2 separate regions of the Homo sapiens genome follow, and region 2 is linked to region 1. The links are contacts of gene promoters, found by promoter capture Hi-C in human tissues and cell types (Jung and others, 2019). All regions are on one chromosome and are shown on one strand. Each heading gives the region's core, a stretch centred on a gene start or on the middle of the fragment in contact. The rest is flanking DNA. Distances are from core to core; before and after follow the strand shown.

Evidence for each region. Contacts are between HindIII fragments. The study calls those that stand out against the background at their distance.
Region 2: a contact is called between a fragment that was not itself captured here and the fragment with the promoter of SLC37A3 in region 1, in 1 of the 25 tissues and cell types used here (H1 embryonic stem cells).

What each region holds. Positions count from the first base shown.
Region 1 is chr7:140,397,280-140,404,779 of GRCh38, reverse strand. It overlaps SLC37A3 (solute carrier family 37 member 3), which reads left to right and starts at 6,250. Exons shown (of 15, transcript NM_207113.3): 1 at 6,250-6,364. It overlaps RAB19 (RAB19, member RAS oncogene family), which reads right to left and starts at 722. Exons shown (of 4, transcript NM_001008749.3): 1 at 563-722. LOC124901759 (a long non-coding RNA gene) reads left to right here and starts at 312. Exons shown (of 2, transcript XR_007060561.1): 1 at 312-595; 2 at 1,958-3,197. RefSeq lists enhancers at 148-647, 648-1,149 and silencers at 6,103-6,332, 6,443-6,712. The HindIII fragment of the contact is 36,664 bases long and covers 1-7,500 here.
Region 2 is chr7:141,055,441-141,062,940 of GRCh38, reverse strand. It overlaps LOC105375537 (a long non-coding RNA gene), which reads right to left and starts at 6,061. Exons shown (of 3, transcript XR_928053.4): 1 at 5,969-6,061; 2 at 5,471-5,583. RefSeq lists an enhancer at 4,883-5,384. The HindIII fragment of the contact is 6,069 bases long and covers 991-7,059 here.

The DNA.
Region 1 (7,500 bases), core at 5,001-7,500:
GGACTCCTCATCCAATTGCTCTAAAAGTAACTGAAACCTGATCCCACTTAATGATTACATTTGATGTGCTGCAAATTGCCCCTGCCTTGTGACATCCTTCTTCACCTCTCCGTTTTACTTTGGTTTTCTCTAAAGTCATAGACAAGGACACTCTGTCTCATCACACAAGGTAAAATGCACTCAAATGTCCAATCTGCATGCAAAAACCCAGGGCTTTAAGGCGATGAAGAAGGATCCCATACCTCTCTTGGACCTCTCTGAAATCACATATGGGTAGATGATCCAGCAGACAACAGACACAATCAAACCACTTTTTTCCTGTCTGACTTTTCAACTAAAGACAGCCATTCCACTTCCGGTGTCTTGGTCTTATCACTGTAACTTGAGCTGAGACTTTACTTCCATGTCTCCCCCCACCCTCAGGAGTCCTCAGGGTTTCCACTAAAGCCCCCTTTCATTGAGCCTACAAGCCTTGCTGGGAGGCACAGGCAGCGTCCACCCCGATGATGTCCTCCCGCCGGCATCCCGCAGCCTTCGCCTTCCTGGTTCACCTGTCGCTTACCTGTCTCGCTCTCTCACCTCTGCTGGTCAGCAGGTAATGTTTTCGCTTTCTTCTGGGTTTGCTTTTCAGCCCCCCAGTGCCCCCTTCTTCCTCCTGCCTCGCTGCTTGGTGGGAAGTGTAGTTCTGGCCCCAGGTGTCGGGTTTGGCGTCCTGAGAAAGTGAAAGGAAAGTGCAATCCCTCCCACCTGCCCTGAGTCCGGAGCTGCCTCAGGGTACAAAGCGCCAGGTGAGGGCGGCCAGCACAGGGCAGGGCGCAGAGCCGGCTTTCTCACCAGCCTTCGCCGGCCTAGCGGAAAGCCCTCACAGGAAGGAACAGCCAGTGAATTAAACCAGTGCTGGCCCATACGACACTGCCCCTGCTCCTTTCTTCTACTTTACCTTGTCTTGTGGGCTTTTGCGTCCTTTGCTCTCAATTTGTCCTGGTGTCCCTTGTTAGGAAACAATTTCAGAATGTATCTCATGTAGTAACAGCGACTGTTTTGCAAAATGTTTGGGTCAGTTGTACATGTGCATATTGTACTGGGTGATGTAAAAAAAAAATTTTTTTTTTTTTTTTGGAGACAAGGTCTCACTCTGTCACCCAGGCTGAAGTGCAGTGGCACCATTCATGGCTCACTGCAGCCTCAACCTCCCGGGCTCAAGCAATCCACCTGCCTCAGCCTCCTGAATATCTGGGACTACAGCTGGCCTGAGGGTTGTTAGTTGAGATAACACCAACTAAAGGAGGATATAGATCTTAAGTAATTTATTTTATTATATATACATATTTTTTAGAGACAGGGTCTTGCTCTATGGCTCAGGCTGGAGTGCAGAGGCATAATTATGGCTCACTGCAGCCACAACATCCCAGGCTCAAGGAAGCCTCCCACTTCAGCCTCCCAAGTAGCTGGGACTACAGTCATACACCACCATGCCCCACTATTTATTGTTTTTAGAGCTGGGATCTCCCTATGTTGCCCATGGTGGTTTGACACTCCTGGGTTTGGCCAGGCATGGTGGCTCATGCCTGTGATCCCAGCACTTTGGGAGGCTGAGGTGGGCAGATCACCTGAGGTCAGGAGTTCGAGACCAGCCTGGCCAACATGGCAAAACCCCATCTCTACTAAAAATACAAAAATTACCCGGGTCTGGTGGTGAGCCTATAATCCCAGCTACTCTGGCAGGAGAATCGCTTGAGCCTGCGAGGTGGAGGTTGCAGTGAGCCAAGGTCGCGCCACTGCACTCCAGCCTGGGTGACAGAGTGAGACTCCGTCTCAAAAAAAAAAAGAAAAAAAGAGAAGAAACTCCTGGGCTCAAGTGATCCTCCTGCCTTGGCTTCCCGAAGTGCTGGGATTACAAGGCATGAAACCACCGTACCTGGCCAGATTGTAAGTAATTTAAGTCTTTGTTTTGTAGATCTGAATATCTCTTTGTGAGGAGTCAGAGAAAGGAGATGATGCAAAGAGAAGGAAGCAAAAACAAAACTAAAAGAACTTTGAAGGTATATGAGAAGAAAAAGCTGAAAAGAAAATGTCTGCCTCACTCCCTCAAAAATTCTACCATAGAGCAAAGGTTGACGTCCAGAAAACCTCAAGTTTATCAGTCCCAGATGCTGGCAGTAGAAGCATAAAGCTGAGGTGAATTTTCCTTACTATTTTTTCCCCAGAGTCTAGAACAGTAACTGCCTCCCAATGTCTATCACAGGGACCAGATTTTCTCCACTACATAGGATGTGATATGTAGGCAGTTAAATGGCATTATAGACACAATAAGCAAAATTGAAACAGAGACACCCTGTTGGATAAAATATTTACATCGGTGTCCTGTTTCCAAACTGTGGGCTGAGACCTATAAATGAGTCATGAAATCAACCTTTGTGGGTTGCAACCAGCATTTTCACAAGAAGGGATTAAGAAACAACTTCAGAATGTATCTTGTGTAGTAACAGTGACTACTGTTTTGCAAAATGTTTGGGTCAGTTGTACACATGCATATTTTACAGGGTGATGTAAAAAAAAAATGTTTTTTTTGAGACAGGGTCTCACTTTGTCTCCCAGGCTGAAGTGCAGTGGCACCGTCATGGCTCACTGCGGCCTCAACCTCCTGGGCTCAAGCAATCTTCCTGCCTTAGCCTCCTGTATATCTGGGACTACAGGTGTGCACCATCATGCCCAGCTATTTATTTCATTTTTTTGTAGAGCCAGGGCCTCACTTTGTTACCCAGACTGGTCTCGAACTCCTGGGATCAAGCAATCCTCCCACATCAGCCTCCCAAGGTGCTGGGATAACAGGCGTGGGCCACCGTGCCTGGCCTGAAATGTCTTTTTAACTGTAGGCTGGGGTCCGCAACGTTTGAGAAGCACTGAAATACAGGGCAATTTATTCACTGTCCAAGAACATTACTTCTATGATGTCTTCAGATAAATTTGAAAATATTTGTCTTACCCAAAATTCCAGTTACATATCCATTTTCAGGATACTCTCTTCTGAGTGAGATAAACTCAACACTGGCAGGTATAGCAAGAAAACAAAAGACTCTGCCAAATATTGCTGCAGGGTGAGAACCACCAGCACAATGTGGAAATCCAGTGTAGGTAAAGATTCGCCCCAAATGTGTGATCAGGAAATAAAACCTGTTAGGTGTCAGTGTCATGAAGTTCAGTGTCCAAATGTTGTCTTTCTTCTGGTAATGGTTACTTTTTTTTTTTTTTTCCTGAGATAAGGTTTAGCTTTTGTCACTCAGGCTCGAGTGCAATGGTGCGATCTTGGCTCACTGCAACCTCCACCTCCCGGGTTCAAGCGATTCTCCTGCCTCAGCCTCCCGAGTAGTTGGGATTACAGGCACCCGCCACCACGTCCAGCTAATTTTTGTATTTTTAGTAGAGATGGGGTTTCACTATGTTGGCCAGGCTGGTCTGGAACTCCTGACCTCAGGTGATCCACTTGCCTCGGCCTTCCAAAGTGCTGGGATTATAGGGGTGAGCCACCGCACCTGGGGTGGTTACTGTTTAAAAAAAAAGTCACCTGACTCAGACCCACTGAGCACTTGGAGAACATCTACAGGTAGAAAACAAATGTTACAAATATTTAAATATCCTGATGGTTTTGGAAGTCAAGGGGAGAGAGATCTTACCTCTGTCTACCACCCAACCCTCTCCACCAAGGTCACTATAAATACAAAGAGCATAGCTTGGGCTACAGGAAAGAAGGCATTCATATGTATAAATGTGTGTGTATATATACACTGTTTTTTCTTTTTTAAGAGACTGGGTCTCCCTCTGTCACCCAGGCTGGAGCACAGTGGTACGATCATAGCTCACTGCAGCCTCCAAAGGTGCGGCTGAAGTGATCCTCCTACCTCAACCTCCCTAGTAGCTGGGATTAAAGATACACACCACCACATGGCTAAGAAGGCATTCTAGCCCTGAGTGGTGGTGACACAGGTTATATACTTGAAGTATACACACACACATATATATGTATACACCCATATGTAAATATAACACAAAAAACTATGTATTTCACTCTATGTATATATATTTACCATTTTAACCGTTTTTAAGTGTACAATTCAATGGCATTAAATACATTGTTGTGCAACCAACATCACCATCCATCTCCAGGACTTTTTTGGCATCCCAAACGGAAACTCCATAGCCATTAAACAACAATTTCTCATTTCCCCTTCCCTCCAGCCATGGGCAACCACCATGCTACTTTCTGACTCTATGAATTTCACTACTCTGGCTACCTCATATAAGTGGAACTGTACTGTACTGGTCCTTTTATGTCTGACTTATTTCACTTAGCATAATGTTTTTGAAGGTTCGTCTATGTTGTAGTATGTGTCAGAATTTGCTACCTTTTTTAGGCTGAAAAATAAACGATTCACAATATATTTTTAAAAATAAAAGTAACATATTTGGCTCATTTATTTTTGCTCACCCTGACATCATATTTCTCCTTGGATGCCTAGAGACAAAACTACCACTGTATAAGGGCTAGAAACAAAACTACCACTGTATAAGGGCAAATAAAAATGAAAAATAACAGGCTTAATTCCTCTGCTGAAAATAAAGAGACTTCTCAGCCTTCTCTCTGTTCCTTCAAAATTTCTTTCTCTGTCCTTTTCGAATGTACACAAATCTTTATAACGGCGAAATGAGCCTCTTGCCAGTATCACAACTCAGAAATGTATCCTCAAGGACTTGGGGGTCATCTTTTTGAAATTCAGACGTGAGTTAGTGCCTGTATCTTCCAGTTCCTACATGAGGGTAAGAGACTAAATTAGTGGGTATGGGCGCCTTGCTCCAATTTGTAAAACTACCTCCTGCTATAAAGATATGCGAACTTTGGCCGGCTGCGGTGGCTCACACCTGTAATGCTAGAACTTTGGGAGGCCAAGGAGGGCAGATCACGAGGTCAGGAGATCGAGACCATCCTGGCTAACACGGTGAAACCCCGTCTCTACTAAAAATACAAAAAAATTAGCCAGGCGTGGTGGCGGGCGCCTGTAGTCCCAGCTATTCGGGAGGCTGAGGCAGGAGAATCCCTTGAACCCGGGAGGCGGAGCTTGCAGTGAGCTGAGATCACGCCACTGCACTCCAGCCTGGGTAACAGAGCAAGACTCCGTCTCAAAAACAAAAAACAAACAAACAAAAAGATATGCGAAGTTTAAAAAACGAACAACAACAACAAAAAGTTATGCGAAGTTTGTTTTGCTTCTGGATAAAGCCAACATGAGTGGTCTCCCCAATTACTACTATTAAGTAAGGAGGAACTATGTTTGACAAAAGGTGTTGTCAAGTTCTGTTATTTGAAGACTAGTGATTGTTTATCTTGAGAACAGGTATGTAATGGTTGTTGTGGAGATTTTCTGGATTAAGAGAAGTTTTTTTTCTTTAAAATTCGAACAAGTGTCTGTATTTTTTCCCTTTATTTAAGAAACGGTGGCGGCGGTGGTGGTGGTGGATGGGGGGCGGCTCTCACTACCTTGCCCAGGCTGGTCTCAAACTCTTGTTCTCAAATGATGCTCCTACTTCGGCCTCCCAAAGTGTTAGGATTACAGGTGTGAGACACTTGTGTTGGATTTTTTTTTTTTGGAGGCAGGGTCTCGTTCTGTTGCCCAGGCTGGTGCAGTGGAGCAATCACAGCTGCCAGCCTCAAACTTTTGGGCTCAAGCGATCCTCGCACCTCGGTCGCCCCAGTAGCAGGGACCACAGGCACATGCCACTACTCCTGGCTAATTTTAACATTTTTTGTAGAGATGGGGTCTGGCTATGTTGCTAAGGCTGGTCTTGAACTACTGGGTTCAAGTGATCCTCCCTTCTCGACCTCCTAAAGTGTTGGATTACAGGCGTGAGCCCACTGTGCCCGGCCTGCATTTAATTAGACACCTAAAATTTAGGCCGGTCAGTAGCACACTTAGCAGCACGTTACTTTTTATAAAAACAAAGACCGAATACCGCTTTTTTGAAAAAAAAAAAAAAAAAAAAAAAAAAAGGATGCACCAGTTCTCCCCATATCATTTCTTCTCTCTACCTCTCGTCTTTTGCAGCTAACATTACTGGCCAGGTCCGCAGCAGCAGAGTTCTGTGGGCTCCCAGCCTCCGCCCTCCTCGCCCTCCTCCGCGCCGGCAGGTGAGGCCGCGTGGCGGGACTACAACTCCCAGCGTGCCCCGCGACGGGAGGGTCACGTGGGCGTCCGGAAACCCTGGTCGCACCGCCAGGGGTGAGCTGGCGGCGGGGGAGGCGGGCAGCGGAGCCAAGCTGACCCGGCGAGCGGAGCCGGGGCTGGAGAGCGGCGACCACTGCGGATCTCGGGTGCGCAAGCGGTGATGCGTGGGGCCGAAGACCTGCTGGGGCGGGGGCGGGTCCAATCCGAGGGGCTTCCCGGGTCGGGAGGGCGGTGGGGAGATGTAGGTGGCGGCCCCCCTTGGGTGGGGCGCCCAGGCAGGGTCGGCCGCTCGCCCCCTCCTTCTCCTCCCTGGGCCCGGGCCTGGGGTCCCGGCCGTCACGGGGAGGCTGCGATGGGGTGGATGGGGAGGAGAAGGACCCCCGGGGGACCCTGCGGCCCGGCCCCGATCCATGCGGCAGAGGCTTTTGTGCTCCTCGCCCGCCTGTCCTCCGGCCGTGGGTCTGGGAGATTCTGACTTGATCAGAAAAGGGCTTGTCGTTCGGACCAGGGGAGAGGGGATGCTTTTCAGGTAGGTGGGGAAGGAAGCTCTTTGGAAAGGATGTATAGAGGTCAGAGAAGAAGCGTGGTCTCAGTGAGTGACTGGTTTTGTTTTCTGGTAACTAGCATGAACTCAGTCAAGGAATTTGGTCAAATTATTCGTCATTCCCTCCTTATTCTTCGCAGGGTGTGTTCTGTTTATTCTCAGTTTTGACAGGAGATAATGGGAATGTGTCCCCGGAGTTTTTAGTGTTTTTTTGAAATGTAAGATGGTAGGCTATCTCGTGGTAACTCTTACTGAAAAGTTTATAGTTTATAGGGAGGAGTGGTTCCTGGGGTGAGCAAAATCATTCAGTTGTTATCTTTTTGTCCACCGGTTTATTTCTACCTTTACACAAATTTATACATACATAAATATATATAACAGTTGTTGAAGGGAATGTCTTCAGTGCTTTGGTGCTTAAATGATTTCTTTTCAGTTTGTTTGATGTTTCTTGGATACTAGGCTCTATACTAAGAACTCCATATAAATTATCTCATTTAATTAATACATGAGGAAATTGAGCTTCGGGTTGGGCGCGGTGTCTCATGCCTGTAATCCCAGCACTTTGGGAGGCCGAGGCCTGTGGATTCCTTGAGGTCAGGAGTTCAAGACCAGCCTGGCCAACATGGTGAAACCCCGTCTCTACTAAAAATACAAAGATTAGCTGGGCGTCGTGGCGCATGCCTGTAATCCCAGCTACTCGGGAGGCTGAGGCAGGAGAATCGCTTGAACCTGGGAGGC
Region 2 (7,500 bases), core at 2,776-5,275, 660 kb before region 1:
GCAACCTACTCATCTGACAAAGGGCTAATATCCAGAATCTACAATGAACTCAAACAAATTTACAAGAAAAAAACAAACAACCCCATCAAAAAGTGGGCGAAGGACATGAACAGACACTTCTCAAAAGAAGACATTTATGCAGCCAAAAAACACATGAAGAAATGCTCATCATCACTGGCCATCAGAGAAATGCAAATCAAAACCACTATGAGATATCATCTCACACCAGTTAGAATGGCAATCATTAAAAAGTCAGGAAACAACAGGTGCTGGAGAGGATGTGGAGAAATAGGAACACTTTTACACTGTTGGTGGGACTGTAAACTAGTTCAACCATTGTGGAAGTCAGTGTGGCGATTCCTCAGGGATCTAGAACTAGAAATACCATTTGACCCAGCCATCCCATTACTGGGTATATACCCAAAGGACTATAAATCATGCTGCTATAAAGACACATGCACACGTATGTTTATTGCGGCACTATTCACAATAGCAAAGACTTGGAACCAACCCAAATGTCCAACAATGATAGACTGGATTAAGAAAATGTGGCACATATACACCATGGAATACTATGCAGCCATAAAAAATGATGAGTTCATGCCCTTTGTAGGGACATGGATGAAGCTGGAAACCATCATTCTCAGTAAACTATCGCAAGAACAAAAAACCAAACACCGCATATTCTCACTCATAGGTGGGAATTGAACAATGAGATCACATGGACACAGGAAGGGGAATATCACACTCTGGGGACTGTGGTGGGGTCGGGGGAGGGGGGAGGGATAGCATTGGGAGATATACCTAATGCTAGATGACACGTTAGTGGGTGCAGCGCACCAGCATGGCACATGTATACATATGTAACTAACCTGCACAATGTGCACATGTACCCTAAAACTTAGAGTATAATAACAAAAAAAAAAACATTAAAAAAAAAAAAAAAGAAAAAAAGAAACACCCTCTAAACATGTTTTGAAAGCTCCACATTGGTATCATTCCTCTTGCCCACATAATATCTAACTGCTCTGGTTTTTAAGATCCTTACAATTACAGGTGCCTCATATCAATAGGTCAAATAAACATCATTTGATCATCTCACTAGAAGCTAAAAAGACCACCAATTAAACCCAACAAACATTCTTGATATGTAAAAGGTGTTCCTAAACTAGAGATAATTTTAAATGAATAAGATCATCTCCTACATAAAGAAATATTTCAAACTAGTAGGAATAAAACAACACAACAGAAAAAAATGTGCAAAGTTTATAAAAAGACAATTTACAGAAGAAGAAATTGAGATGGAAAATTAACATACGAAAAAAACCTCACTAGTAATCTACAGAATGCAAATGTTTTTAAAATACTGTTGTTTACCCACCAGATGGGGAAAAAATCTACATGTCTGTTAATATCAAGTGTTGGCTGGGGCATAGAGAAACATGCTCTCATGCACTTCTGGTGGGAGCATGAGCTGATAGAGCCACTCTAGATGGCAATTAGGAGTCACTGTTAAGATGAAAAAGACATGTCTCTATGACCCAGCAGATATCCTTCTGTACTTGTCTGCCCATGTCATCACATAACTATCTCCTCTTGTGTATCTTCACATCACTCCTCTGTGCATCTCCATCTCCAAATTTCCCTCTTCTTATGGGGACAACAGTCATATTGCTATAGAGACCTACCCTACTCCAGTTTGACCTATCTTAATTATCTTAATTAATTACATCTACGATTATGCGATTTTTTTTTTTTTTTTTGAGACAGAGTCTTGCTCTGCCGCCAGGCTGGAGTGCTATGGCTCAATCTTGGCTCACTGCAAGCTCTACCTCCCAGGTTCAAGTGATTCTCCTGCCTCAGCCTCCCGAGTAGCTGGGACTACAGGCGCACACCACCACACCCAGCTAATTTTTGTATTTTTAGCACAGACAGGGTTTTACCATGTTGGCCAGGATGATCTCGATCTCTTCACCTCGTGATCCACCCACCTCGGCCTCCCAAAGTGCTGGGATTATAAGCGTGAGCCACTGCACCCTGCCATGATGACACTATTTCTAAAGAAGATCACATTCTGAGGAACTGAGGGTTAGGACTTCAACCCATAACTCTACTTTTCATACAGAAAAAAAAGGGAGCATAAGAAAATATACATGTATCTACTTATTTGTGCAAAATCAAAGGGTAAAAAGCCAAGTAGGCAACAGTAAGTTGATAGCAGGAAGCCACTAGCACCCTGGGTTAAAAGCAACATTGAGAGACCCCAGGGCAAGCATACAAATGAAGGTCCACATACCATAAGTCTCAATGTTTAAAATAAGTCAAATGACAAATTGTTAAATCAAAGTGTGTTCTATCCTTCTATATTACAAATACCTTTATGATGACAAAATTTTGAAATAAATACATGTAAAGTTATTTTAGTTTTTTTTCTTTTTAATAGAGACAGGGTCTCATTCTGTTACCCAGACTGGAGTGCAGCGGTGTACTCCACTGCAACCTCAAACTCCTGGATTCAATTGATCCTCCCATCTCAGCCTCCTGAGTAGATGGGACTACAGACGTGTGTCACCACACCTGGTTAATTTTCATATTTTTTTGGTAAAGATGAGGTTTCACCATGTTACCCAGGCTGGTCTCAAGCTCCTGGGCTCAAGTAATCCTCCTGCCTTGGCCTCCCAATGTACTAGGATTACAAGCATGAGCCACCATGCCCAGCAAGTTATGTTTCTTGCATAAATAAAAGTTGGCAAAATAGCATGTGCTGGTGAACCAGCAATGTTCAAATACATAGTAAAATAAAAGCATTTCATAATTCATAACTAATTATACATATTTTTTCTTATTTTTCTTGATGTTTACTCCAGAAAAATCATTAATCCTATTGCTATAATCAAGATTTTCACATAACTTCTGTTGATGGTAATGCCAAATGTTCTTAACAACTTTTTGATTCATTGTAATTTTTCGATCATTTTTTGTTTTGTTTCAAGACAGGGTCTCTCTCTGTAGCAGAGGCTGGATTGCAGTGGTGCCATCACAACTCACTGCAGCCTCGACCTCCCAGGCTTAAGAGATCCTCCCACCTCTGCCTCCTGAGAAGCTGAGACTACAGGTGCACGCCACCGCATTTGGCTAATTTTTATATTTTTAGTAGAGATGGGGTTTCACCATGGCTCCCAGGCTGGTCTCAAACTCTGGGCTTAAGCAATCTGTTCACCTTGGCCTCCCAAAGTGCTGGGATTGCAGGCATGAGCTACCATGCCCAGCCAGATAGGTTTTTTTAGCATTATTAATTTCAACTTGGACAAATTTCACTCTACTGAGGCAGTAACACTTTTATTGGAAGTATTGGTAAAATTTTTAAAGCATACTTATTTTGAAATTTTACGTTATTTTCAAGCACTGTAACAATCATCTATGAAAAGCTTATAGTGCAGAACAATATTATATTTTACTTTTATCATATAAATCATGATCGATCATATATACCTTTTTTTTACCATCTCTTAAAGTAATATCTAGATCCATATAACATTTCTTAAGTTCGTCTTTCAAATATTCCAATGCTAGGATAAAGGAGACCAAAAATCAAAACATACTGCTTAATTTATTAAAATCAGTCTTTAATCAAGACCATATCTTGATCTATAATGATTGGAAAATAGTTTTTATAGACATTACTTTGGGATAATGAATCTTCTCCTTTAAAGTCTTTCTTTTTTTTTTTTTTTTAGATTTGCCTAATCTGGATATTTCTTTTTTTTTATTTTATTATTATTATACTTTAAGTTTTAGGGTACATGTGCCTTGTTCAAGGGAAAGCCATTCTCATGCCTCAGCCTCCCAAGTAGCTGAGACAAAGGCATGCACCACCACACCTGACTAATTTAAAGTCATAAAGACATTTTCATTTTCTTGTTCTAATGTCCTAATATTTTATTATAATATCATTTTGATTTCACATGCAGTTCATTTCTATTTGGAGAAAAACATTTTCTTTAAAATTTAAACATATATTTTAAAAATTAAGTGAGAAATTGCCAAACTTAGATCTGAATTTTTACAGATCTAAGATTTTACAGATCTAATTTTTACAGATTTCTGTTTCTGTACATTTTTTTTTTTTTACTTTTTTTTTCAGTTTAATCCTTGGATTTCGTTTGGCTTATATGTTAAAAATCCTCAAAAGAAAGGAAACTAAGCCAGAAACCTTTTAAGGAGGACTCCCTTTCAGGACCTCCTACCTATTTTGTTTACATTATTAATAACAAGCAATAGTTCATATCAAAGAATTGTGGATAGCACAAATCCAAAATTGATTTCCTTTTCCACCAAAGACCACATTTTGCTCTATATGTGAGCATCATCTGTTGTTTCAGGTAGCTGGTACATCTTATATCTAGTATACCTTATGTATTTTATGTATTTTCTAAATAAAATTTAATGACTTTGGCAGCATTTTCTAGTCAGAATTTCCATCATATGTCTTCAAGTGGCTATAAGATCAAATTTAAATGTGCTTTGTCTGTGGATAAATTCAAGATATAGCACAAATACCTATAATCTTTTAATTTCTCCAAAGAATTTTACAACTATTGGCTCAAGCTGAGGCCACATCTCTTAGTAACACATTAAACTATGTACGATATGTGACATTAGCATGTTTCTGTATTTTAGGCCAAAATTCAGAATGGGTCGAGAAATATAGTTAAGAGCAACATGAATTGCTTAATATCGCAAAACAGTCCTCAGGTACCGTGTACAACTGTTGCAAAATATCATCCTAATTCCCGTGTAACTCCAGAACCACGAAGTGGAACACCAAAGGAAGACAGAAGATGGATACTTATGACTTCTGGGAAATTATACTTCCTTATTCAAAAATCTACTGAACACATGCTGTCTGGGAGAAAAGATTGACAAGTTAATCATTTTGTCCTCTTTTGTGTCTAAGTGCTTCTACCTTCAGATCCTCTCAGCACATCAAAGCAGAATCCACCCCCAACATCAGCAGCAACACAACCCAAAACACTTAATGGCACTCAGATGCAGTTGTCTTTTGTTTTGAGGATACAGGCCAAGAGGTATGTCAGAGCACTTTCCTGGGGCCCATTCTGTGTTAACCAGAAGAGCAGAAGTTTAGGGTCACAGCCCATGCTGTGCAGACCTGATGCAGGAACTCAAGACACAGAGGCAACCATGAATTCTTCAGTTCAGTTATTTGTGTGTGTTTGGAATATGCAGAGCCCTCTAACGTGGGGTTGGGAAGGGACCCTCTTGCTGGGGACTAAGGGCAGCCTAGCTGAAGAAACAAAAAAAGGAAGAAGTATTTCCTGAAACCTGGAACCAGGTTTGCCCAACAGAAGCTGGACCCATGGAGACACCTGTCTGGCCAGAGCTGGAGCCACGAAACAGATGCAGCTGTTGCTAGAGTTGCTACTTGTGGCAGAGAACAAGGGAGGAATACCTGGGCTTCTCCCTTTCTTCTATTCACCAATCTCTTGCCAGAACCTCCCAGGGCCTGCACTCAGCAGGAAGCCAGCTGACATGGGAACCTTGGGACACGCCGATTTCAGTCCACTGCAGTACAACAGAGCGGGGAAGGGCAAGGAACAGATGTTAAGGCAAACAGGACACGGTGAACTGGCACACAGTGAAACTTCAGAGACATTCCAATAAAATCAGGACCAAGATAAATATGCTGTCTCACATACGTATATATATGATGGTTTTTGAGATAGGGTCTCCCTCTGTCAGCCAGGCAGGAGTGCAGTGGCACACTTAACAGCTCACTGCAGCCTCCACCTCCTGGGCTCAAGCAAGGAGCCCAGAGCAATCCTCCCACCTCAGCCTCCCTAGTACCTGGGACTACAGGCATGCACCACCATGTCCAGCTAATTTTTTTGTATTTTTTTGTAGAGATGGGGTTTTGCCATGTTGCCCAGGCTGATCTCAAACTCCTCACCTCAAGTGATCTGTCCGCCTCAGCCTCCCAAAGTGCTGGGATTACAGGAGTGAGCCACTGCATCAGGCTACTATTTAATATATTAGAGGTCAAGAAAAGGGCAGGAAACAAAAATAAGTGTTATAACCATTGGAAAGGAGGATGCAAAACTATCACTATACACAGAAAATGACTGAAAATTCAAAAGAATAAACTAACAAGCTAGTAGCACTAATAAGAGAGTCGGATAAGATGGCTGAATATAAGAAAAATAAACAGATATCAATACTTTCCAACATAATAGCAATTAATTATCAGAAAATATATTGGAAAACTCTTCCATTCAAGATAACAAAAACTATAACACACTTATGAATAACAGTTACAAAGAAAGGAGAGGATATGAAGAAAACTACAAAACTTCATTGAGAGACACAAATGATATAAACAAAATGTAAAAACCTATCATGTTCTGGCCAGGCGCGGTGCTCACACCTGTAATCCCAGCACTTTGGGAGGCCGAGGCAGGCAGATCACCTGAGGTCAGGAGTTCAACACCAGCCTGACCAACATAGTGAAACCACATCTCTACTAAAAATACAAAAAAAATTAGCTGGGCGTGGTGGCGCCCACCTGTAACCCCAGCTACTCGGGAGCTGAGGCAAGAGAATCGCTTGAATCCAGGAGGCAGAGGCTGCAGTGAGCCGAGATCACACCACTGCACTCCAGCCTGGGCGACAGAGCAAGACTTTGTCTCAAAACAAAACAAAACAAAACAAAACCTACCATGTTCCTAAATGAAACAACTCAATACTATAAAAGTGCCGATGCTTTTCAAAGTCATTTATAGATTTAATACGGTGCCAATTGAAATCTCCATTTGTTTGATTTGGAACTTGAAAAAATAATTTTCAAGGTAATCTGAAAAAATATTCATGACAACAGCGAAAATATTATTATGGGATAATCTTTCATAAATATTAAAATATTTTTTAATCACAGTATTTTAAATAGTGTGATACCCACTTCTTAGACTCTGCATTCCCCATCCCAGAAGCCTCAGTATTTTTTTATAAATAAAAAGAACAAGACATGATTCATTAAAAATCATGAAAAACATGATTTGTAAGAAATTAGACCTGTAAGTGACTACAATTCCTCAAGATCTGGAAAAGTGAAAAGGAAATGGCAGCTGCCCAGCCAGGTTTTGACCTGAATGAGTGCACAGCGATGCCCCTCGGCCTATGCAATGCCTCAATGTTTTCCAATCGTTGAATTCTGGGCTGAGGAGGCATAGGTTATGTGGACAGCATCCCATTCTACTTCCAACCTGACTTCTGAGGCCGGATCCTGAAAGTCCTGATCACTTGCTACATTGTCTCCTATAGACTGAATTGTGTTCCCCAAAAATTCTTATATTGAAGCACTAATGCCCAATGTGATGGTATTCGGAGATGGGGTCTTTGAAGGTAATTGGATTTAGATGAGGTCATGAAGGTGGGGCCCTCATGATGGGATTAGTGCCCTTATAAGAAGAGGAAGAGACACCAGAG